Linked DNA regions of Homo sapiens: all the other regions are linked to region 5. The links are contacts of gene promoters, found by promoter capture Hi-C in blood cells and fetal thymus (Javierre and others, 2016). All regions are on one chromosome and are shown on one strand. Each heading gives the region's core, a stretch centred on a gene start or on the middle of the fragment in contact. The rest is flanking DNA. Distances are from core to core; before and after follow the strand shown. Region 1 holds the start of NWD1 (NACHT and WD repeat domain containing 1). Region 2 overlaps SMIM7 (small integral membrane protein 7). Region 3 overlaps TMEM38A (transmembrane protein 38A). Region 4 has its middle 25 kb from the start of NWD1. Region 5 holds the start of CPAMD8 (C3 and PZP like alpha-2-macroglobulin domain containing 8). Region 6 overlaps NWD1 (NACHT and WD repeat domain containing 1).

Evidence for each region. Contacts are between HindIII fragments. The CHiCAGO score rates a contact against its expected background, and 5 or more counts as called.
Region 1: the fragment with the promoter of NWD1 here is called in contact with the fragment with the promoter of CPAMD8 in region 5 in 8 of 17 cell types (M2 macrophages, endothelial precursors, erythroblasts and 5 more); the score reaches 11.7 in M2 macrophages.
Region 2: a contact is called between a fragment that was not itself captured here and the fragment with the promoter of CPAMD8 in region 5, in 1 of 17 cell types (endothelial precursors). The highest score is 5.7, in endothelial precursors.
Region 3: a contact is called between a fragment that was not itself captured here and the fragment with the promoter of CPAMD8 in region 5, in 1 of 17 cell types (endothelial precursors). The highest score is 6.1, in endothelial precursors.
Region 4: a fragment that was not itself captured here is called in contact with the fragment with the promoter of CPAMD8 in region 5 in 3 of 17 cell types (M1 macrophages, M2 macrophages and erythroblasts); the score reaches 6.2 in M1 macrophages.
Region 6: a contact is called between a fragment that was not itself captured here and the fragment with the promoter of CPAMD8 in region 5, in 1 of 17 cell types (endothelial precursors). The highest score is 5.9, in endothelial precursors.

The regions. Positions count from the first base shown.
Region 1 is chr19:16,717,646-16,721,170 of GRCh38, reverse strand. NWD1 (NACHT and WD repeat domain containing 1) reads right to left here and starts at 1,324. Exons shown (of 19, transcript NM_001007525.5): 1 at 878-1,324. The HindIII fragment of the contact is 21,822 bases long and covers 1-3,525 here.
Region 2 is chr19:16,643,652-16,647,084 of GRCh38, reverse strand. SMIM7 (small integral membrane protein 7) reads left to right here. Exons shown (of 5, transcript NM_024104.4): 5 at 1-937. Among named protein-coding and RNA genes, the nearest start is that of SMIM7, 15 kb to the left of the region's middle. The HindIII fragment of the contact is 1,300 bases long and covers 677-1,976 here.
Region 3 is chr19:16,667,705-16,671,341 of GRCh38, reverse strand. All of the region lies in intron 1 of TMEM38A (transmembrane protein 38A), which reads right to left. Among named protein-coding and RNA genes, the nearest start is that of TMEM38A, 8.4 kb to the right of the region's middle. The HindIII fragment of the contact is 309 bases long and covers 1,443-1,751 here.
Region 4 is chr19:16,693,173-16,696,631 of GRCh38, reverse strand. No RefSeq gene overlaps it. Among named protein-coding and RNA genes, the nearest start is that of NWD1, 25 kb to the left of the region's middle. The HindIII fragment of the contact is 578 bases long and covers 1,277-1,854 here.
Region 5 is chr19:17,024,800-17,028,232 of GRCh38, reverse strand. It overlaps CPAMD8 (C3 and PZP like alpha-2-macroglobulin domain containing 8), which reads left to right and starts at 1,423. Exons shown (of 42, transcript NM_015692.5): 1 at 1,423-1,682. The coding sequence starts at 1,591. RefSeq lists an enhancer at 343-1,251. The HindIII fragment of the contact is 6,852 bases long and covers 19-3,433 here.
Region 6 is chr19:16,734,464-16,737,699 of GRCh38, reverse strand. NWD1 (NACHT and WD repeat domain containing 1) reads right to left here. Exons shown (of 19, transcript NM_001007525.5): 4 at 950-1,066. Among named protein-coding and RNA genes, the nearest start is that of NWD1, 16 kb to the right of the region's middle. The HindIII fragment of the contact is 3,826 bases long and covers 1-3,236 here.

The DNA of each region.
Region 1 (3,525 bases), core at 75-2,574, 310 kb after region 5:
CACAATTAAAAAGTATCCCTAGGCTGGGTGCAGTGGCTCACACCTCTAATCCCAGCACTTTGAGAGGCCAAAACAGGCAGATTACTTGAGGCCAGGAGTTCGAGACCAGCCTGGCCAACATGGCGAAACCCCATCTCTACTAAAAATACAAAAATTAGCTGGCGCGGTGGCATGTACCTGTAATCCCAGCTACTCGGAAGCCTGAGGCAGGAGAATCGCTTGAACCCGGGAAGCAGAGGTTGCAGTGAGCCGAGATCGTGCCACTGCGCTCCAGCCTGGGCAACAGAGCAAGGCTCCATCTCAAAAAGAAAAAGTCTCGGCCAGGTGCGGTGGCTCACGCCTGTAATCCCAGCACTTTGGGAAGCCGAGGAGGGCAGATCATGAGGTCAGGAGATCGAGACCATCCTGGCTAACACGGTGAAACCCCGTCTCTACTAAAAATACAAAAAATTAGCCGGGCATGTGGCGGACACCTGTAGTCCCAGCTACTCAGGAGGCTGAGGCAGGAGAATGGTGTGAACCTGGGAGGCAGAGCTTGCAGTAACTGAGATCACGCCACTGCACTCCAGCCTAGTGACAGAGCGAGACTCCGTCTCAAAAAAAAAAAAGTCTCCCTAGACATTGCAATGTCCCCTAGGGGGCAGAATTCCCCTTACTCGAGAACCCCCTAGTCTAATGCATTTAGCTTATTTCAACCTCAGGGCCTTTGCACGTCCTGTACTTTAGTGCTCTATGCTGCATCTGTTCATGTTGTTCACATTTTAGCTTCAATGCTACCTCCTCCTGAGAGGCTGTCTCTGACCATCCCATTGCGTAGTGACCCCTTAAGTCACTCCCAATGCCATCGCCTTATTTTAATTTTCTGCATGGTACTCACCAACAGCTGATATGTTTCTACATGTTATTGTTTGTCTGTCCCACGAGAAAGTGAATTCCATGAGCCCAAGGATCTTGTCTGGTAAGGCTGGCGTGCCTGGCACATAGTAGGTGCTCAGTAAATTATCATCACAACAGCTTCCTCCACAACTGTTTCTCTTTCTGGACTTCTGTTTGTTGCTGAAGAAGACAGCTGAGCAGGACTGGGCTTCCCCAGTAAGGACAGAGGCCCTTTGCAGTGTCAGCGTTCTGGCTGTCCTGGGGGCTCCAGCCTCTCTTTAGCCTTTGCTGGTAGTTGAACGACCAATTTAGACTCCTCTGGGGAAATAGGTTAGAGAGGACAGTTTCCTGGCCTCGGCGCCACCCGGAAGACAAGCCCCTGGCTATCCTAGTAACTTTCGTCTTAGGTATTTTATGGGTCTCTCCTTGCCCAATTCTCCCAGCAACTGGGATAATGAAAGCGATTGTTTGCACTAGGGCACCAGCTTAGCCGGGCATTCAGCCCAGACTTAGTGGTTAACTATTGTGTGCCAGGCTGATACGGCTCCTCGTAAAAGATGCCATTTGCTGACAGTCTAGGAGGTGCAGTTGGTTGGCATTTGGCATTAGCAGTCCACATTATTACCCCAAGAGACAGACATTATGATCCTGTTTCACAGATGAAGAAAACAAGATGCAGAAAGGTGAAGTCCCTTGCCTGTGACGCTTCACTACTCTGCACTTGAATTTTCTCACTAACTTCCTGTGTTGGTGAGACAATGAAAAGCATTTATATAGAGAGTGAGACTAACACTACACCTACATCACAGGAAGGGCCCGTGAGATGTTAGCCATGATTAATTACCATTAAAACTCCAAGACCGGGCACGGTGGCTCATGCCTGTAATCCCAGCACTTTGGGAGGCCGAGGCAGGCGGATCACCTGAGGTCAGGCATTCAAGACCAGACTGGCCAATATGGTGAGACCCCTATCTCTACTAAAAATAGAAAAATTAGCTGGGCGTGGTGACGCATGCCTGTAATCCCAGCTACTTGGGAGGCTGAGGCACAAGAATTGTTTGAACCTGGGAGTTGGAGGTTGCAATGAGCCGAGATCCTGCCACTGCACTGCAGCCTGGGCGACAGAGCAAGACTTTGTCTCAAAAACTCACAAATCACCCGGGCATGGTGGCTCACGCTAGTAATCCCAGCACTTTGGGAGGCCAAGGCAGGCAGATCACGAGGTCAGGAGATCAAGACCATCCTGGCTAACACGGTGAAACCCCGTCTCTACAAAAAAAACAAAACAAAACAAAACAAAAAATTAGCTGGGCGTGGTGGTTTGCACCTGTAGTCCCAGCTACTCAGGAAGCTGAGGCAGGAGAATGGCATGAACCCGGGAGGTGGAGCTTGCAGTGAGCCGAGATCGCACCACTGCACTCCAGCCTGGGTGACAGAGCGAGACTTTGTCTCAAAAACTCACAAGTCACCCAGGCATGGTGGCTCACGCCAGTAATCCCAGCACTTTGGGAGGCCAAGGCAGGCAGATCACGAGGTCAGGAGATCAAGACCATCCTGGCTAACATGGTGAAACCCTGTCTCTACATAAAAAACAAAAAACAAAAAACAAAAAATTAGCTGGGCGTGGTGGTTTGCACCTGTAGTCCCAGCTACTCAGGAAGCTGAGGCAGGAGAATGGCATGAACCTGGGAGGTGGAGCTTGCAGTGAGCCGAGATTGCGCCACTGCACTCCAGCCTGGGCGACAGAGCAAGCCTCCATCTCAAAGAAAAAGTAATAATAATAGTGTTACTATATTTTCAGGGATAGAAGTTTCAGATACTTGGTCAGGCGCGGTGGCTCATGCCTGTAATCCCAGCACTTTGGGAGGCCGAGGTGGGCAAATCACCTGAGGTCAGGAATTTGAGACCAGCTTGGCCAATATGGTGAGACCCCATCTCTACTAAAAACAAAAATTAGCCAGGCATGGTGGCAGGTGCCTGTAATCCCAGCTACTTGGGAGGCTGAGGCAGGAGGATCACTTAAACCTGGGAGGCAGAGGTTGCAGTGAGCAGAGATTACGCCATTGCACTCCAGCCTGGACGACAGAGCCACACTACACTCCATCTCACAAAAAAAAAAAAAAAAGAAGTTTCAGGTGCTGCCAGGCACAGTGGCATGCTCCTGTAGTCCCAGCTACTGGGGAAGCCAAGGTGGGAGGATCACTCAAGGCCAGGAGTTCAAGACCAGCCTGGGCAACATAGTGAGACCCTCATCTCTACAACAACAACAATAACAAAAAATTAGCTGGGCGTGGTGGTGTGTGCCTGTAGTCCCAACTACTCGGGAGGTTGAGGTGGGAGGATTACTTGAGCCCAGAAAGTCAAGGCTGCAGTGAGATATGATTGCCTCACTGCACTCTAGCCTGGGCAACAGAGCAAAACCCTGTCTCTTTAAAACAAAAAAAGAAAAAGAAAAGAAAAGAAGTTTTAGGGGCTGAAATTTTAGGAAACATACTGTCTCCAATACTCCAAGCAATCTGGGGGCTTCAATTTACTATCCCAGTTCATTGATGATGAAAACAGGCTTCCAGACCAACGTGATGAAACCCTGTCTCTACTAAAAATACAAAAATTAGCTGGGCGTGGTGGTGAGCACCTGTAATCCCAGCT
Region 2 (3,433 bases), core at 77-2,576, 380 kb after region 5:
TTCCCAGCCACGTCCCTGTTTTCAAAGATAGTTTCACTTTGGTCTCTGAATTGAAATGCTGTCTACTGAAAGGGTTTCAGGAGCGTTTATGTAAGGGGCTGTGATGAAATTGCATTCCCCATAGATAAAAGAAAAATCATTTCTATCCAGAGATCTGAGCAGAAGGATTGGCTTGTTAGTTTAACACAGCCGTATTTTTGGACATTCAGTGTTACTTGCTGAGTCTGACAGCCTCTGGGCCCGGCCAGGGGCCCTGTTAACAAACTGCTTTCACATCCCAACAGGGTCTGCTTGGCCACTCAGTGCAGCTGCGATTAACCCTAAAGGCTTTAAGGAACGGGCCACCTGTAACAGAGACACCAGCCTTCCTGTATAGACACTAAATTGTTAGCAAGAGTGTTGAGCTAGTTCCTGGTGAAGTGTTTCCACAGAAGACATGTGGAGCAGTTGTGGGGATATTAAGGGAAACTTTCCTCTGCCTTGACCCCTTTGTTAAATAAAATGACTTTGGGAGCCATTCATTGTACAGTTGCAGGAATGAGAGTGATTTTATGATGTGGTACATTGGGACCATGTTCTAAAACCTTGGGTTTCTGAGTCTGCTTTTTGAGTAGGTGATTTTGAGGTTGAAAAACCAGGGGCCTTCATCTAGGAAATACAGCATTTTCCAGAAGCTTCTTTGAAAGGGAATCCTGGTTTTGTTGCCAAAATGAAACGCCCGGGGTTGGCGCTGAATCCCACAACTGTGTGATTTGCTTGTTGAGTTTTTTGTTGTCTGGTTTTTTTGTTTGTTTGTTTATACCAATAAGAATGAGCCTGAATGTTGGTGGTTTTTGAAATCCTGACTTGGAGGTAAACCTGGAGGAAGGAAAAAAAGTAAATATGCAGGCTTTTAGGACTGAGTAGCCTTGAAAATAAACCTCATTTCTAAAAAGGACCTTTTGTTTATACTTTTTTTTTTTTTTTAACCAAGAAGTCAATTTCCAACCTGAGTCCTTTTGAATTTACCCTGCTGGAAAAACCTAGGATTCATTTTGGAGGCCATGAGAAAGAAAAGAGTCAGTGGTAGAGTTTCCTTTTTGGATTTAGCTCAATAAATGATGGTCAAGAATTGGGCAAGTGGGGCTGCGCGCAGTGGCTCATACCTGTAATCCCAGCACTTTGGGAGGCCGAGGTAGGCGGATCACTTGAGGTCAGGAGTTCGAAACTAGCCTGGCCAACATGGTGAAATCGCATCTCTACTAAAAATAGAAAAATTAGCCAGATATGGTGGCACACGCCTATAATCCCAGCTACTCGGGTGGCTGAGGCACAAGAATTGCTTAAATCTGGGAGGCGGAGGTTGCAGTGAGCTGAGATTGAGCCACTGCACTTCAGCCTGGGTGAGACAATGAGATTCTGTCTCAAAAAAAAAAAAAAAAAAAGAATTGAGTAAGTGGAATTTTGACTGGAGCTGCTCCTGAAAGTATTGAAAGAGTCATTGCTAATGGTGGGCTCTTGCTAGACCAGGGTCAAGTCCACTTTTGCTGCCTCTCAGGTTGTGGAATTCTCCTTGATCACTTCTGCAATTCATTTCCTTGCCAAATCTCAGCCAAGCATCACCCCAAGGTCTGTAAGTAGCAGAGATCGGAGCTGCTGGGTCTGGCTTTGCTGAGGCCGGTGTCGCTGTCAGAACAGGCACGCCAAGATCTTGGCTGGGTCCCTCACAGGCCAGATGAATGGTGTGAAGAAACCTTCCTGCCTTATTCAGACTGGCGCGGAGGTCTCAATGAGGCGAGGCATTTGTCCATTATGGGGATGAATCGTGCTCTCAGAAGAGAATCCTGTCATTGAGGTTTTGTTTCAATAGTCCTCTTTTTCTCCAGAGAACTGTTGTCTCATTGTTAATAATAGCAGCGTGGCTTTTTCAGATGCTGGTTGGTGGCTGCTGTACATTTTAAAAATGGAATCTCATGGTTGTGTCTCTTAAGGAAGCTTTTCAAGAACTTTACTGGCACCAGAGGTTATCAGAGTTTGAAGTTTGGGTGCCTAGTGTCTCACAGTGTTTAAGCACTAATGTTCTGGGTCAGTTAGGTGTGAGTACAAATCCCATCTCAGCTCATTCTGAGAGGGACCTTGGCTAATTGCTTTCTCCTCTCCAAGCCTCAGTTTCCACATCTCTAAAATCGGCCTGCAAGTAGTGTGTGCCTAAGGTTGTTGTAAGTTTCAATGAACTCGAATGCGGCTGAGTGCCTGAGAGCACCTGTTGCTGTGGGTATCATCACCGTGTGTGTTTTCTGTCTTCTCATCCACTTTTCTTTGTGCAGTCTGCACACACACCATTAAAGGCTGATGACAGCATTTTTACGAATTGCAAACAGAGGCCAGCGCGGTGGCTCCCAGCACTTTGGGAGGCCGAGGCAGGTGGATCACGAGGTCAGGAGTTCAAGAACAGCCTGGCCAAGATGGTGAAACCCCGTCTCTACTAAAAATGCAAAAATTAGCTGGGTGTGGTGGCATGCCCCCTGTAATCCCAGCTACTCAGGAGGCTGAGGCAGAGAATTGCTTAAAAACCCAGGAGGTGGAGGTTGCAGTGAGCTGAGATCGTGCCAGTGCACTCCAGCCTGGGTGACAGAGCAAGATCTTCTGTCTCGGAAAAAAAAAAAAAAGTTACAAACAGACTGAGTGCAGTGAGAGGCTCACACCCTGCAATCCCAGCATTTTGGGAGGCCAAAGTGGGCAGGTCACCTGTGGTCAGGAGTTCGAGACCAACCTGGCCAACATGACAAAACCCCGTCTCTACTAAAAAATACAAAAATTAGCCAGGTGTGGTGGCGTGCGCCTGTAATCCCAGCTACTCAGGAGGCTGAGGCAGGATAATCACTTGAACCAGGGAGGCGGAGGTTGCAGCGAGCCGAGATCGCGCCATTGCACTCCAGCCTAGGCGACGAGCAAAACATCTCAAAAAAAAAAAAAAAAAAAAAAAACGCAAACAATTTCCAGCCTGGTAAACCTTTTCCTGTCTTCACCATCCCCATGCAGCATTTTCCATATTCCTGTATGTATGTTTTGAGAGTGGATAAGGAAGGATGAGTTCTGCTGTGTTCATTTCAGCATCATTTTCTTTACACTTGCTTTGTTGCTAGGAGGTGTTACAGTTCTCATTTTTACTTACGGTGCAGTGTCAGTAAATAGGTCCTTAGCCACCTTGTTGCTGGACTTGGATTATATTTTGTCCACTGTGATCAGGGCTGCCCCTGGCACCAGTGTTGTGATCTTCATTGGCTTCTATTGTGGCATTAGCTTCCTTGGGCAGATAACCATGGAGGGGTCCATAATATCCTTAAATACCATTGGTGTGGCTTTAAGTGGCTTTTGTTTGTTTTACTTTGCTTGAAAAAATTTTTTAGGCCTGGTACGGTGGCTCATGCCTGTAATCCCAGCACTTTAGGAG
Region 3 (3,637 bases), core at 348-2,847, 360 kb after region 5:
AATCCCAGCTACTCAGGAGGCTGAGGCAGAATTGCTTGAACCCAGGAGGCGGAAATTGCAGTGAGCCAAGATCGTGCCACTGCACTCCAGCCTGAGTGACAGAGTGAGACTCCGCCTCAAAAAAAAAAAAAAAAAAAAAAGCCCAGGTCCTTTCCCCTTTCCATACTCCTTGGTTTCTCTTGATGGGTTTGGGACAGCCCCATGAAGCCAATAGGTTTTCAACTGCCGCATGCCATGAACACATTCCCCTCTGACTGGGTGAGCTTAGGCTAGTCCCTCCCTTCCCTGGGCCTCAGTTTGCCCATATGTAGGAGGGGGAGGCGGTCTAGGGTGACCAACTATCCCCCTTTGCCTGGGTCCCAGGGGTTTCCTGGGACATGGGACTTTCTTTTATTCTTTTTTTGAGATGGGGTCTTGCTCTGTCGCCCAGGCTGGAGTGTAGTGGTGCGATCTTGGCTTGATGCAACCTCCACCTCCCGGGTTCAAGTGATTCTCCTGCCTCAGCCTCCCGAGTACCTGGGATTACAGGCACCCGCCACCAGGCCCGGCTAACTTTTGTATTTTTAGTAGAGATGGGATTTCTCCATGTTGGCCAGGCTGGTCTCAAACTCCTGACCTCAGGTGATCCACCTTCCTCGGCCTCCCAGAGTGCTGGGATTACAGGCATGAGCCCCCGCACCCGGCTGGACATGGGACTTTCGATGCTCATCTTGGGAAAGCCTGGACAAGGTGACCACACCAGATCTATATCAGTCATTTCCAAAGATGCCTGTGAGGGTGAAAAAGAGATTGCTTAGCGCCTAGCAACGACGCAAGAGGTATTTCTGGAACAGTGCGGAAATGGAAAGTACCTGTGGGTGGAAATTTCAGTAGATGGATTTTTTAAAAATCAGCTCTGCCTCGGCTGGGCACGGTAGCTCATGCCTGTAATCCCAGCTACTCCGGCAGCTGAGGCAGGAGAATCGCTTGAACCTGGGAGGCGGAGGTTGCAGTGAGTCGAGATCATGCCACTGCACTCCAACCTGGGAAATAGGAGCAAAACTCTGTCTCAAAAAAAAAAAAAAACAAAAAACAGGCCGGGCGCAGTGGCTGATGCCTGTAATCCCAGCACTTTGGGAGACCGAGGCGGGTGGATCACAAGGTCAGGAATTCGAGATCAGCCTGGCCAATAGAATGAAACCCCATCTCTATTAAAAATACAAAAATCAGCTGGGCGTGGTGACAGGCACCTGTAGTCCCAGCTACTCGGGAGGCTGAGGCAGGAGAATCGCTTGAACCCATGAGGCGGAGGTTGCGGTGAGCTGAGATCGCGCCACTGCACTCCAACCTGGGCGATAATAGCGAAACTCTGTCTCAAAAAAATAAAATAATAAAATAAAAATAAATAAATAAATAAACAAACAGAAAAAAATCAGCTCTGCCTCAGAAGAGAGGAAAAAGCTTTGGGTCCCTAAGTCCTGGTCTGCAATGGACTCTGTGACTTTCCCTTTTCAGGGGTCAATGCCTCATTTGCAGATGACTGGGTGGTACTAGAAGGGTCCCCAGGGCACTCTAGCACTGTGCTATTCAGTCAGAGGTGTATGAAGCATGGGGTACTGACCGAGTCTCTCAGTGACTCTAGGACCAGTCTTCTCCTCCTGAGCTTTTGAGCTCAGCATTCTGCCTCAGTTTCCTCCCCTGTTAAATGGAGATAGCAGCCTCTCCCTCACAAGGTGGAGCAGGAGTCAACAGCCTCCTGCCCTCAAAAAGCTTGTAGTTCAAACCAGAGATCTCAAATCAGGGATCAAAGAATGGTTTTCTTTGGTCCTAACAGCATATGAAAAATGTTAAAACTTGTCTGGGTGTGGTGGCTCACACCTGTAATCCCAGCACTTTGGGAGGCTGAGGCGGGTGGATCACTTGAGGTCAGGAGTTCAAGACTAGCCTGGCCAACATGGTGAAACCCTGTCTCTACTAAAAACACAAAAATTAGCTGGGCATGGTGGCGGGCACCTGTAATCCTAGCTACTCAGGAGGCTGAGGCAGGAGAATTGCTTGAACCAGTGAGCCGGAGGTTGCAGTGAGCCGAGATCACACCACTGCACTCCAGCCTGGCAACAGAGTGACTCCGTCTCAAAAAAAAAAAAAAAAAGTTAAAACTGCAACCAAGATGTCCTGCAGGGAGTGAGTGGATAAACAAACCATGAAACATCCTTACTATGAAATACTATTTGGCCGGGTGCAGTGGCTCACGCCTGTAATCCCAACACTTTGGGAGGCCAAGGCGGGCAGATCACCTGAGGTCGGGAGTTCGAGACCAGCCTGGCCAACATGGAGAAACCCCATCTCTACTAAAAATACAAAAAATTAGCCAGGCGTGGTGGCACATGCTTGTAATCCTAGCTGCTTAGGAGGCTGACACAGGAGAATCACTTGAACCTGGGAGGCAGAGGTTGCAGTGAGCCAAGATCAAACCATTGCACTCCAGCCTGGGTAACAAGAGCAAAGTCCATTTCAAAAAAAAAAAAAAGAAAGAAAAAGAAAAAAGAAAGAAATATTATCCAGTGAGCTATCAAGACATGAAAAGACATGGAGGAACCTTAAATGCATATTCCTAAGTGAAAGAAGCCAGTCTGAAAGGGGTACATACTGCATGATTCCAACTAAAGGACATTCTGGAAAAGGCAAAACTCTGGAGGTAGTAGAAAGAAAGATCAGTGGTTGGCCGGGTGCAGTGGCTCATGTCTGTAATCCCAACACTTTGGGAAGCCAAGGCAGGTGGATCTCCTGAGCCCAGGAGTTCAAGACCACCCTGGGCAACACAACAGAACCCCCATCTCTTTTTTTTTTTTTTTTTTTTGAGACAGAGTCACTGCAACCTCCGCCTCCCCCCAGGTTCAAGCAATTCTCGTGCCTCAGCCTCCGGAGTAGCTGGCATTACAGGCTTGCGCCACCATGCCTGACTAATTTTTATATTTTTAGTAGAGACAGGGTTTCACTGTGTTGGCCAGGCTGGTCTCCAACGCCTGGCTTCAAGTGATCTGCCTGCCTTGGTGTCCCAACTTGCTGGGATTACAGATGTGAGCCACCTCCTTCAGCCCCATGATTCTGAGTTATTTATTTAATTAATTTATTATTTATTATTTATTTTTCTGAGACAGAGTCTTGCTCTGTTGCCCAGGTTGGAGTGCAATGGCATGATCTCTGCTCACTGCAACCTCCGCCTCGCAGGTTTAAGTGATTCTCCCACCTCGACCTACCAAGTAGCCAGGACTACAGGCGCCCGCCATCACGCCTGGCTAATTTTTGTATTTTTAGTAGAGACAGGGTTTCACCATGTTGGTCAGGCTGGTCTCAAACTTCTGACTTCAGGTGATCCACCAGCCTCAGCCTCCCAAAGTGCTGGGATTACAGGCGTGAGCCACCATGCCTGACCCACAATTCTGATTTAAATGAAAGAGGGGTGACAATCAGGACAAAAGGATTTTTTTTTTTTTTTTTCTGAGACGGAGTCTTGCTCTGTCACCCAGACTGGAGTGCAGTGGCAAGATCTTGGCTCAATGCAAACCTCCACCTCCCGCGTTCAAGCAATACTTGTGCCTCAGCCTCCCAAGTAGCTGGGATTACAGGTGCACACCACCATGCGTGGCTAATTTTT
Region 4 (3,459 bases), core at 316-2,815, 330 kb after region 5:
GGTATTAGGAGGTGCGGCCCTTGGGAGGTGATTAGGTCATGAGGATGTGGCCCTCATAATGGGATTAGTGCCCTTCCACAAGAGGCCCCCAAGAAACTCCTTGATCTTTCTACCATGTGGGGACACCAAAAGAAGACACCATCTGTGAACCAGATAGCCAGCCCTTACCAGACAGTGAATCTGCCAGCATTTTGATCTTGAACTTCCCAGCCTCCAGAACCATGAAAAATAAATTTCTGTTGTTTACAAGCCACCAGTTTATAGTATTTTGTTGTAGCACACTGAAAGGACTAAAACAGGAGATAAGGTCTTTTTTTTTTAAATTTTTTTAGCACCAAACTGATTGAGATAAGGTCTTTAAAGAGACAATTAAGTTAAAATAGTCAGTCAAGCAGGGTGGCTCACATGCCTGTAATCCCAGCACTTTGGGAGGCTGAGGTGGGTGGATCACTTGAGATCAAGAGTTTAAGACCAGCCTGGCCAACGTGGTGAAACTCCATCTCTACTAAAAATACAAAAATTAGCCAGGCATGGTGGCACGTGCCTGTAATCCCAGCTACTCGGGAGGCTGAGGCATGAGAATCACTTGAACCCGGGAAGTGGAGGTTGCAGTGAGCCGAGATGGCGCCACTGCACGCCAGCCTAGGCCACAAAGCCAGACTCCATCTCAAAAAAAAAAAAAAAGATAATTAAGTTTTAAAAAAAGTCTATAGGTGGGCCCTGATCTAATTCACTGGTGTCCTCGTAGGCAGAGGAGACTAGGATACAGACATACGAAGAGGGAAGACTATACGAGGACAGAGAAGGCGGCCGTCTGCCACCCAAGCAGAGAGGCCTTGAGAAACAAAACCAACTGACACCTTGATGTCAAACTTCCACCCTCAAGAATTAGGGAAAAATAAATGTCTGTGGCTTAAGCGACTCTGTCTGGAGTATGTTACTGCAGCCTATTCATTTATTTATGAGACAGGGTCTCACTCTGTCATCCACGCTGGAGTGCAGTGGTGCAATCTCAGCTCATTGCAGCCTCGAACTCCTGGGCTCAAGCGATCCTCCCACCTCTGCCTCCTGAGTAGCTGGGATTACAGGCTCACATCACCACAACTGGCTAATTTTTTTTTTTTTTTTTTTCTGCAGAGACTGGGTCTCACTGTGTTGGCCAGGCTGGTCATGAACTCCTCAGCTCAAGTGATCCTTTGGCCTCGGCCTCCCAAAGTGCGGGGATTACAGGCATGAGCCACCATGCCCAGACTTTTTTTCCTTATAATTGAAAGCTTCTTTTTTTATAGCTTTACTGAGGCATAACTGATAGATGAACTATGCATATATAAAATGAAAACTTTTAAGTACTTAGGTTGAATGAGTGGGAAAAAAAGAAGTAAAAAATAATTAATTAAAAATAAATAAAAAAGAGGCCGGCGTGGTGGCTCAAGCCTGTAATCCCAGCACTTTGGGAGGCTGAGGCAGGTGGGTCATTTGAGGCAAGGAGTTCGAGACCAGCCGGGCCAATATGGCAAAACCGTCTCTACTAAAAATACAAAAATTAGCCAGGCGTGGTGGTGGGCACCTGTAATCCCAGCTACTCTGGAGGTTGAGGCAGGAGAATTGCTTGAACCCAGGAGGCAGAGGTTACAGTGAGCCAAGATTGCACCACTGCCCTCCAGCCTGGGCGACAGAGCGAGACTCTGTCTCTCTAAATAAATAAATAAGAAAAAAGTTAATTTTTTTTTAAATCTTAAGTAATCAAAGCAAAATTTAGACCAGGCACAGGCACGGTGGCCCACGCCTGTAATCCCAGCACTTTGGGAAGCCGAGGCGGGCAGATCACCTGAGGTTAGGAGTTTGAGACAAGCTTGGCCAACATGGTGAAACCCTGTCTCTGCTAAAAATACAAAAATTAGCCAGGTATGGCGGTGGGCACCTGTAATCCCAGCTACTCAGGAGGCTGAGGCAGGAGAATCACTTGAACCCAGGAGGCAGAGGTTGCAGTGAGCCAAGATCGTGCCACTGCACTCCAGCCTGGGTGACAGAGCAAGACTCCATCTCAAAAAACAAAACAAAACAAAAACCCAAAAGTAAAATTTAATAGATTCAGACATGGGTATAGACCCAAGAAACCAGCACAATCAAAGCCATCAGCAGATCCATCACCCGAGTTTCCTGGTGCCACTGCAAAATTCCTCTCACCTGCCCTACCCTGTCCTTCTTTCCCCAACCACATGCTGATCAGCTTTCTGTTACAATAGTTTGCTTTTTCTAGGATTTCAGATAAATGGATGCCTATATTACACATTCTTTTTTGTATGGCTTTTTCCCACCAATCTGGATACATTCGAGACTCATTCATGTTTTTGCATGTTCACCACCTCCACCGCCTTTTTTTTTTTTTCGCTGAACAGTAGGCAATACTATGGGCGGAGCACAGCTGTTCATTTATTCACATTTTTGTTTTTTTAAAGACAGAGTCTTGCTCTGTCACCCATGCTTCAGTACAGTGGCACCATCACAGCTCACTGCAGCCTCAACCTCCTGGGCTAAAACAGTCCTCCGTCCTGCACCTCCCAAAGCCCTGGGATTATAGGTGTGAGTCACCCATGACCACCCTATGTTTAACTTATAGTGTTTTTGTTTTGTTGGTTTTTTTTTTTTGAGACGGAGTCTTGCTCTGTCACCCAGGCTGGAGTGCAGTGGCGCAATCTCAGCTCACTGCAACCTCTGCCTCCTGGGTTCAAGTGATTCTCCCGTCTTAGCCTCCTGAGTAGCTGGGATTACAGGCAGGTGCCACCATGCCTGGCTAATTTTTGTATTTTTACAAAATTACACCTTGTTGGGGTTTCACCATGTTGGTCAGGCTGATCTCAAACTCCTGATCTCAAGTGATCTGCCCACCTCGGCCTCCCAAAGTGCTGGGATTACAGGGGTGAGCCACTGTGCCAGGCTAACATTTTGTTTTTTGTTTTGTTTTGTTTTGGTTTTTTTTTTTTTTTTTTTTTTTTTTTTGGAGATAGAATCTTGCTCTGTCACCCAGGCTGGAGTGCAGCGGTGCAATCTCAGCTCACTGCAACCTCCCCATCCCAGGTTCAAGGGCTCCTCCCGCCTCAGCCTTCAAGTAGCTGGGATTATAGGTGCACACCACCACGCCTGGCTAATTTTTTGTATTTGTAGCAGAGACAGGGTTTCACAACGTTGACCAGGCTGGTCTCGAACTCCTGAACTCAAGTGATCTGCCCACCTTGGCCTCCCAAAGTGCTGGGATTACAGACGTAAGCGATTGCACCTGGCTTCTATGTTTAACTTATAAAAAAACCTGCCAAATTGTCTTCCAAAGTGGTTGCACCTTTTTACCTTCCTACCAAAGCATATGAGAGTTCCTATTGCTCCACATCCTCACCAGCACTAAAATGACCATATTGTCATTTTAATTTTAGCCATTTTGTTGGATGTGAAGTGACAACTCAC
Region 5 (3,433 bases), core at 174-2,673:
GAGGGGGCAAGAGAAGCTTCCCTTGAGTTTCCTGGAAGGATCAGGAGTTGGACTGGCAAAGGAGGCAGGTAGAGGAAGACAGAGATTAGGCAGAAGCAGGCAGTGGAGTAAGAACAGGGTGTTGGAGGAACTAGGCTGAGGTCTCTGCCATCAAAGCCAGAGTTTAGATTTGGTCTCAATAAACGGGAAGCCCTGGCTGGATGTGGTGGCTCACACCTGTAATCCCAGCACTTTGGGAGGCTGAGGAGGGAGGATCATTTGAGCCCAGTGCTCAAGACCAGCCTGGGCAACACAGTGCGACTCCGTTTCTAAAAAAAAATATATAAAAATTAGCTGGGTGCGGGCTTGCACCTGTAGTCCCAGCTACTCTCCAGGAGTCTGAAGCTGCAGTGAGCTGTGACTGCACCACTAAATTCCTGCCTGGGCAACAGAGCAAAACTCTGGTCTCAAAACATAAAAATAAAATGTAAAATAAACAGGGAGCCCCGAGGATTCCGGGCAGGAGGGGGTGTGGTCAGCACTGGAATTTTAGAAGAAGGGCAGTTGGTAGCTGGGGGAAGGGGGTTCCACACTGGAAGGAGGGGGTCCAGGACTTGGACATGGTATAGGATGTGCCGCCTGCCAGTGGGACCTAGGACAGCAGGACCATCACTGAGGTGGCCACACGGGGAGGGGCAGGAGGGGACACCCTGCTCTTGGAGAGAAAGGGGGTGCCCATCCACCCCTGCTGTATGAAGGGGAAAGGGGGACTCTGAGGCCCAGCGAGAGAGGGGACGGGCCCAAGGGATTTGTGGACAGTGGGGGTGGGGGAGAGGGGAGCAGAGAGCACAGATAGGGACCTGGGGCAGATGTGAGTCTGGGAGGTTCGACCCCTGGCTAGACTGTTTCCCCAAAGGGTCCTCTGCTCCTTGGGCTGTACGCACTGCACTGGGCACTAGATACAGGCCAGGGCTTAGGGCACGGCGGCGCCTGTGGGATCGGGGTTGCAGGCGGCGTCCAGACCCAGGGGCCCCTGGTGAGGGGCGGGCCCGGGGAGGGGGCCATAAGGGGCTGGCTGGGGAGGGAGGGAGGGAGAGGCCAGGGAAGGGACAGGTTCCGAGTGGACGCTGGGTGGAGAGGAGAGGGAGAGTGGGGGCGGTGGGGGGTCGGGTCCGAGGCGGGGCTGGTGGGGAGGGGGGCATCCGGGGGCGAATCCGGGTAGGGGGTGAGGAGGCGGGTTCGGAAGGAATCGGGCAGGGCCCGGGTGGGTCCGGTGAGTAAGTGAGGGGACGATCCCCGGAAGGGATCGGGGCGGGTCGGGGTCCGGAGATGGGCGGAGCAGGCGTCCCGGGAGGGTGCGCCCAGGAGCGGGGCGAGCGGGGCGAGCGGGGCGGTCCCGGAGACGAGGCGGGTCCGGGGAGGGGGCTGGCCCGGGGCTGCCCCAGCTTGGCCGGGCGCGGAGCGGGGCGCATGGCGCCGGGCGCACTGCGCGGGGGCTGCGAACAAAGGGCCCCCGGCGGCGGCGCGAGGACGGCCGCGCTCGGACCCTGGCCCTGGCCCAGCCCTGGCCCGGCCCCCTCCCCAGGCGCGGCGCCCCCCAGGAGCCGAAAAATGAGCGGCGCCCTGCTCTGGCCGTTGCTCCCGCTCCTGCTCCTGCTGCTGTCGGCGCGGGACGGCGTGCGCGCCGCGCAGCCTCAGGCCCCGTGAGTATCCTCCGGCGACAGAGGAGGTCGGTCGCCTTCTGGGGTGGGGGTCGCGGGTACTGGCTCAGAGTGTTGCAGCGACCTGCCCAAGGCCACACAGCCTCCGCGCTGGGCTGGACCTGGCCTCTTGTTCCCGAATCGTCTTGAGGAGGGGGCGCCCTAAAGTTTCCGAAGTGGCTCTGTGGAGGTACAGGGACTCCCAAAAGCTAAAGGTGCTGAGGTCAGCTCCCCCCGCCCCACCTCGCCCCCTTCGTGTGACCCGGGCTGTCATCATGGGTGGCGATTTCCAGTTGTCCAAGGTATGAAGGTAAGAGGAGCGTCTTGGCTGAGAAGTGGGAGGAGAGTGCGAAGGGGCACTTTCCCGTGGGTGGGCGTGGTGAGGGAGGAGGAAGTGTTTGTTTTGCTTCTACATTTTTCTAGAGGTTTGCTTGCAGGCTTCTGGTGGGTTGACAGCGGGGAGAAGGTGAATTAACTAACTGCTGGGGAGTACTGCTAAGTTGGCTTCACAGAGAATATTTCTAAACCTGGCAAGTTCGGGTGAGCTCTGCAGGGCTGCGGGTTCAGGGGGGCTGCCCTGGTCTGCACAAGACCAGCCTTTTAGTCCAGCTGGGCGTTTAGAAGGCGGCTTGTTCAAGCAGCCCTTGTTTAGGAGTTTCCAGAAAACTGGTAAGCAGTGAGACTAGGTGGGTGTCGTTATTTGCAGTGAGTAGTTGGTCCTTGCTGGTCACAGTTTTAAAAGCAAGACAGTCTACTGCGCTCTGAGCATCCAGACTTCCCTCTCCTAGGCTTCGTGAAATCGGAACCCTACAAATTTTCATCCTAATGCTTCTTTCAAAGCTGGCATCCCTTAGAATAGTGGTTCTCAGCCCTGGGGGGGATTTTTGTCTCCCTGAGGCCGCTGGGAAATGTCTGGAGGTATTTTTGGTTGTCACAAATAGGGAGAGGCATTTGGTGTTGGCATTAAGTGGGTGCAGGCCAGGAATGCTGGTAAACAGCTTTCGATGTGCAGGTCAGCTTCCACTGCAAGGAATGACGCGGCCCCACATGACAGACCTTGGCTCCAATGAGAGACCCTGCCTTATACAGAGGTTTTTGTTTGTTGTTTGTTGTTTTTGGGGTTTGTTTTTGTTTTTGTTTTGAGATGGAGTTTTACTCTTGTTGCCCAGGCTGGAGTGCAATGGCACGATCTTGGCTTACTGCAACCTCCGCCTCCCAGGTTCAAATGACTCTCCTGCCTCAGCCTCCTGAGTAGCTGGGATTACAGGCGTGTGCCACCACACCCGGCTAATTTTTTGTATTTTTAATAGAGATGGGGTTTCTCCATGTTAGCCAGGCTGTTCTGGAACTCCTGACCTCAGGTGATCCACCCACCTCCGCCTCCCAAAGTGCTGGGATTAGAGGCGTGAGTCACCGTGCCTGGCCCGTTAGAGAGTTTTAAACAGTTCTCCAGGGCGTTTTCCTCTGACTAAAGTCACCCTGTGATCTTACCATCTGTTAAGTGACATGGAATCCCTGTGCTGAGAGACACACTGGGGAAGAGATGTCCCCAAATGACCGACCTGGGATTCCAGATTAGCTGGCCTCTAAGCCAGGGGCATGGTTCACCCAGCCCAAAGGATCTCGTCTTAGGAATAGCTCTGGATGCCCACTTCTGTCACCTGAGAGATTTTTGTGTGAGGAATCTCTGATCCCAGAAAGCAGCACAGTTTGCAGTTGTAAGAGCAATTCTGTCTACACTGACCCAGACATCC
Region 6 (3,236 bases), core at 280-2,779, 290 kb after region 5:
GCCCGGCCCCCTGCTCTAGAATTTCTAAGGAAAATGTGATCGTTCTTGGATGTATCTGGAACTCGATGTAATAAATTAGGACTCAGGCCAGCCTGGGCAACATAGCAAGACCCATCTCAAAAAAAAAAAAAAACTTAAAACTAGACCAGGTGCATTGGCTTATGCCTGTAATCCCAGAACTTTGGGAGGCCAAGGTGGGAGGATCACTTGTGCCTAGGAGTTCAAGACCAGCCTGGGCAACATAGTGAGACCCCATATTTCCAAAAAAATACTAGCCAACTGTGGCGGCACACACCTGTAGTCCCAGCTACTTGGGAGAACAAGGCAGGGAGATCAGAAGCCCAGGAGTTCAAGGCTGTAGTGAGCCATGATCTTGCCACTGCACTCTAGCCTGGGCTTTTTTGAGACTCTGTCTCAAAAAAGAAAAAGAAAAAAGACTCAGGAATATCATTCAATTTTAATAGCCAAAACCATTAATTGTGGACTGGAGATTGATTTTTTGATAGAAGGGGTGCAATTGGAAGAGAGAGGGGAGAAGTCCCCACGACCTGAAACCAGTGGGCACATGGAGGAAAAAAAATATCCCAAGACCCTGTGGGTTTCCACCTTTTCCATGGCTTTCCAGGATCCCAAAGTTCTATAGACATAAAGTGGAGGGGGTGGGGAAGGTGGGAGAAAGTCCAGATCAAATTCCAAGATTCCTTCTGGCTTCAACATTCTACTCTCCAAGCCACCTGCTGCTTCCATTTGACTGCTAATGTCTGGATCCCATTCAGCTCTGCAGAAAGAGTTCTGTGATTGATTAGTAATGTCTGCCACAGGCAGGCCATAGGGATAAGGTACGAAAGCAGAAACGGTACCTACTTCCCTCTGCTGATCAGTTTGTCTAGAAAGCAGGGGGCATATCCTGGAGGAGTAAGAGCTAACCCATTCCTCCCAAGACACTCACAACAAAAGCTGGCCCTATGGATGTTTTCCAACACCGGTCAACCTCCTCCAAGCAGAGTTCTGTGGTCAAGTGGTCAGTGGCTTCAATGTTCCGAATACCCCACCTCAGATCAACGACCTGGGAAATAGAAACACAAGTTTGTCAGAGAGGTGGCATGACAGGTGATTTGTTTTTTCAATCCCTTTTGACAAAGCAGAAAGTTTCTTTCAAAAATTTTTGACAGCCTCTTCCTGTAGGGGGATGTCTGGATTAAAAGAACTTGAACCAAATTCATAACCTCAGTATAATCATGAGAAAAATAACAGACAGACCCAGACTAGAGGGAAGGGCGTTCTTCAAGATGCCCTGCCAGTCAAAGCCAAGCATGGTGGTGGGCACCTGTAGTCCCAGCTACTCGGGAGGCTGAGGTAGGAGGATCAATTGAGCCCACAAGGCAGAGGTTGCAGTGAGCTCTTATTGTACTACTGCATGCCAGCCTGGACAGCAGAGCCAGGCTCTGTCAAAAGAAAGAGAGAGAGGAAGGTAGGAAGGAAGGAAGGAAAGAAGGAAGGAAGGAAAGAAGGAAAGAAGGAAAGAAAAAGACTGCCAAGGTCATGAGAAATAAGGTGACTGAGAAATTGACACAGACCAGAGGAGACTAGGGCAATAAGACAACGAAATGCAATGGGGTACCCTGGATGGGGTTCTTCACCAGAAAAGACTTAGATAGAAGAGCTGGCAACATTTGAATAAAGTCAGGAGGTTAACAGTCATGTACCAATGTTGATTTATCTTTTTTTTTTTTTTTGAGTTGGAGTCCTGCTATGTCACCCAGGCTAGAGTGCAGTGGCGCAATCTTGTCTCACTGGAAAATCCTTCCTTCCTTCCTTCCTTCCTTCCTTCCTCCTTCCTTCCTTCCTTCCTTCCTTCCTTCCTTCCTTCTTTCCTTCCTTCCTTCCTTCCTTCCTTCCTTCCTTCCAGTGGCATGATCTTGGCTCATTGTAAATTTTGCCTAATGGGTTCAAGCGATTCTTATGCCTCAGTCTCCTGAGTAGCTGGAACTACAGGCGCACACCACCATGCCTGGCTAATTTTTTGTATTTTTAGTAGAGATAAGGTTTCACCATATTGGCCAGGCTGGTCTCGAACTCTTGACCTCAGGTGATCCACCCACCTCGGCTTCCCAAAATGCTGGGATTACAGGCATGAGCCACTGCCCCCAGACTGATTTCTTTCTTTCTTTCTTTCTTTTTTTTTTTGGTCAGGGGGACAGAGTCTTGCTCTGTCACCCAGGCTGGAGCTTAGTGGTGCACTCTCAGCTCACCACAACCTCCGCCTCCCGAGTTCAAGCAATTCTCCTGCCTCAGCCTCCCGAGTAGCTGGGATTACAGGCGTGCACCACCACGCCTGGCTAATTTTTTTGTATCTTTATTAGAGATAAAGTTTTGCTATGTTGGCCAGGCTGGTCTCAAACTCCTGATCTCAAGTGAACTGTCTGCCTCAGCCTCCCAAAATGTTAGGATTACAGGCACGAGCTACTGCACCTGTCCTCAAAGTTCATTTCATAGTTGTAACAACATAGTTGGTTGTGCTGTGGTTAGGTAAAACGTTAGGAGACACAGAGTGTGGGGTGTATGGGAACTCCGTACTGTCCATGCGTTTCCTGTAAGCCTAAATTCCAAATTCAGAAGTTTATTTATAAACATTTAGTCGGGCACGGTGGCATGTGCCTATAATCCCAGCTACTCTGGAGGCTGAAGCATGAGGATTGCTTGAACCCAGGAGTTCAAGACCAGGTTGGGCAATGTAGCAAGACCTCATCTCTAAAAAAATAAAAATTAAGAAATAAAAAAGCAAGTTAATTAAAATAAAAAAATTAGAACAGAGGCAGGGCAAAGTGGCTTACCCCTATAATCCCAGCACTATGGGAGGCTGAGGGAGGAGGATCTCTTGAGGCCGGGAGTTTGAGACCAGCCTGAACAATATAGGGAGACATTGTGTCTACAATAAATAAATAAATAAATAAATAAATAAATAGCCAGGTGTAGTGGTGTGTGCCTGTAGTCTCAGATACTTGAGAGGCTGAGACAGGAGGATCACCTGAGCCCAGAAAGCTGCAGTGAGCTGTGATTGCATGCCTGCACTCCAGCCTGGGTGACAGAGCGACACCCTGTTGCAAGAAAAACAGAAAAAGAAAAAAGAAAAAAAAAAAGAAAGAAAATCTTTTTTTTTTTTTTGAGATGGAGTCTTGCTCTATCACCCAGGCTGGAGTGCAGTGGCGCAATCTTGGCTCACTGCAAGCTCCGCC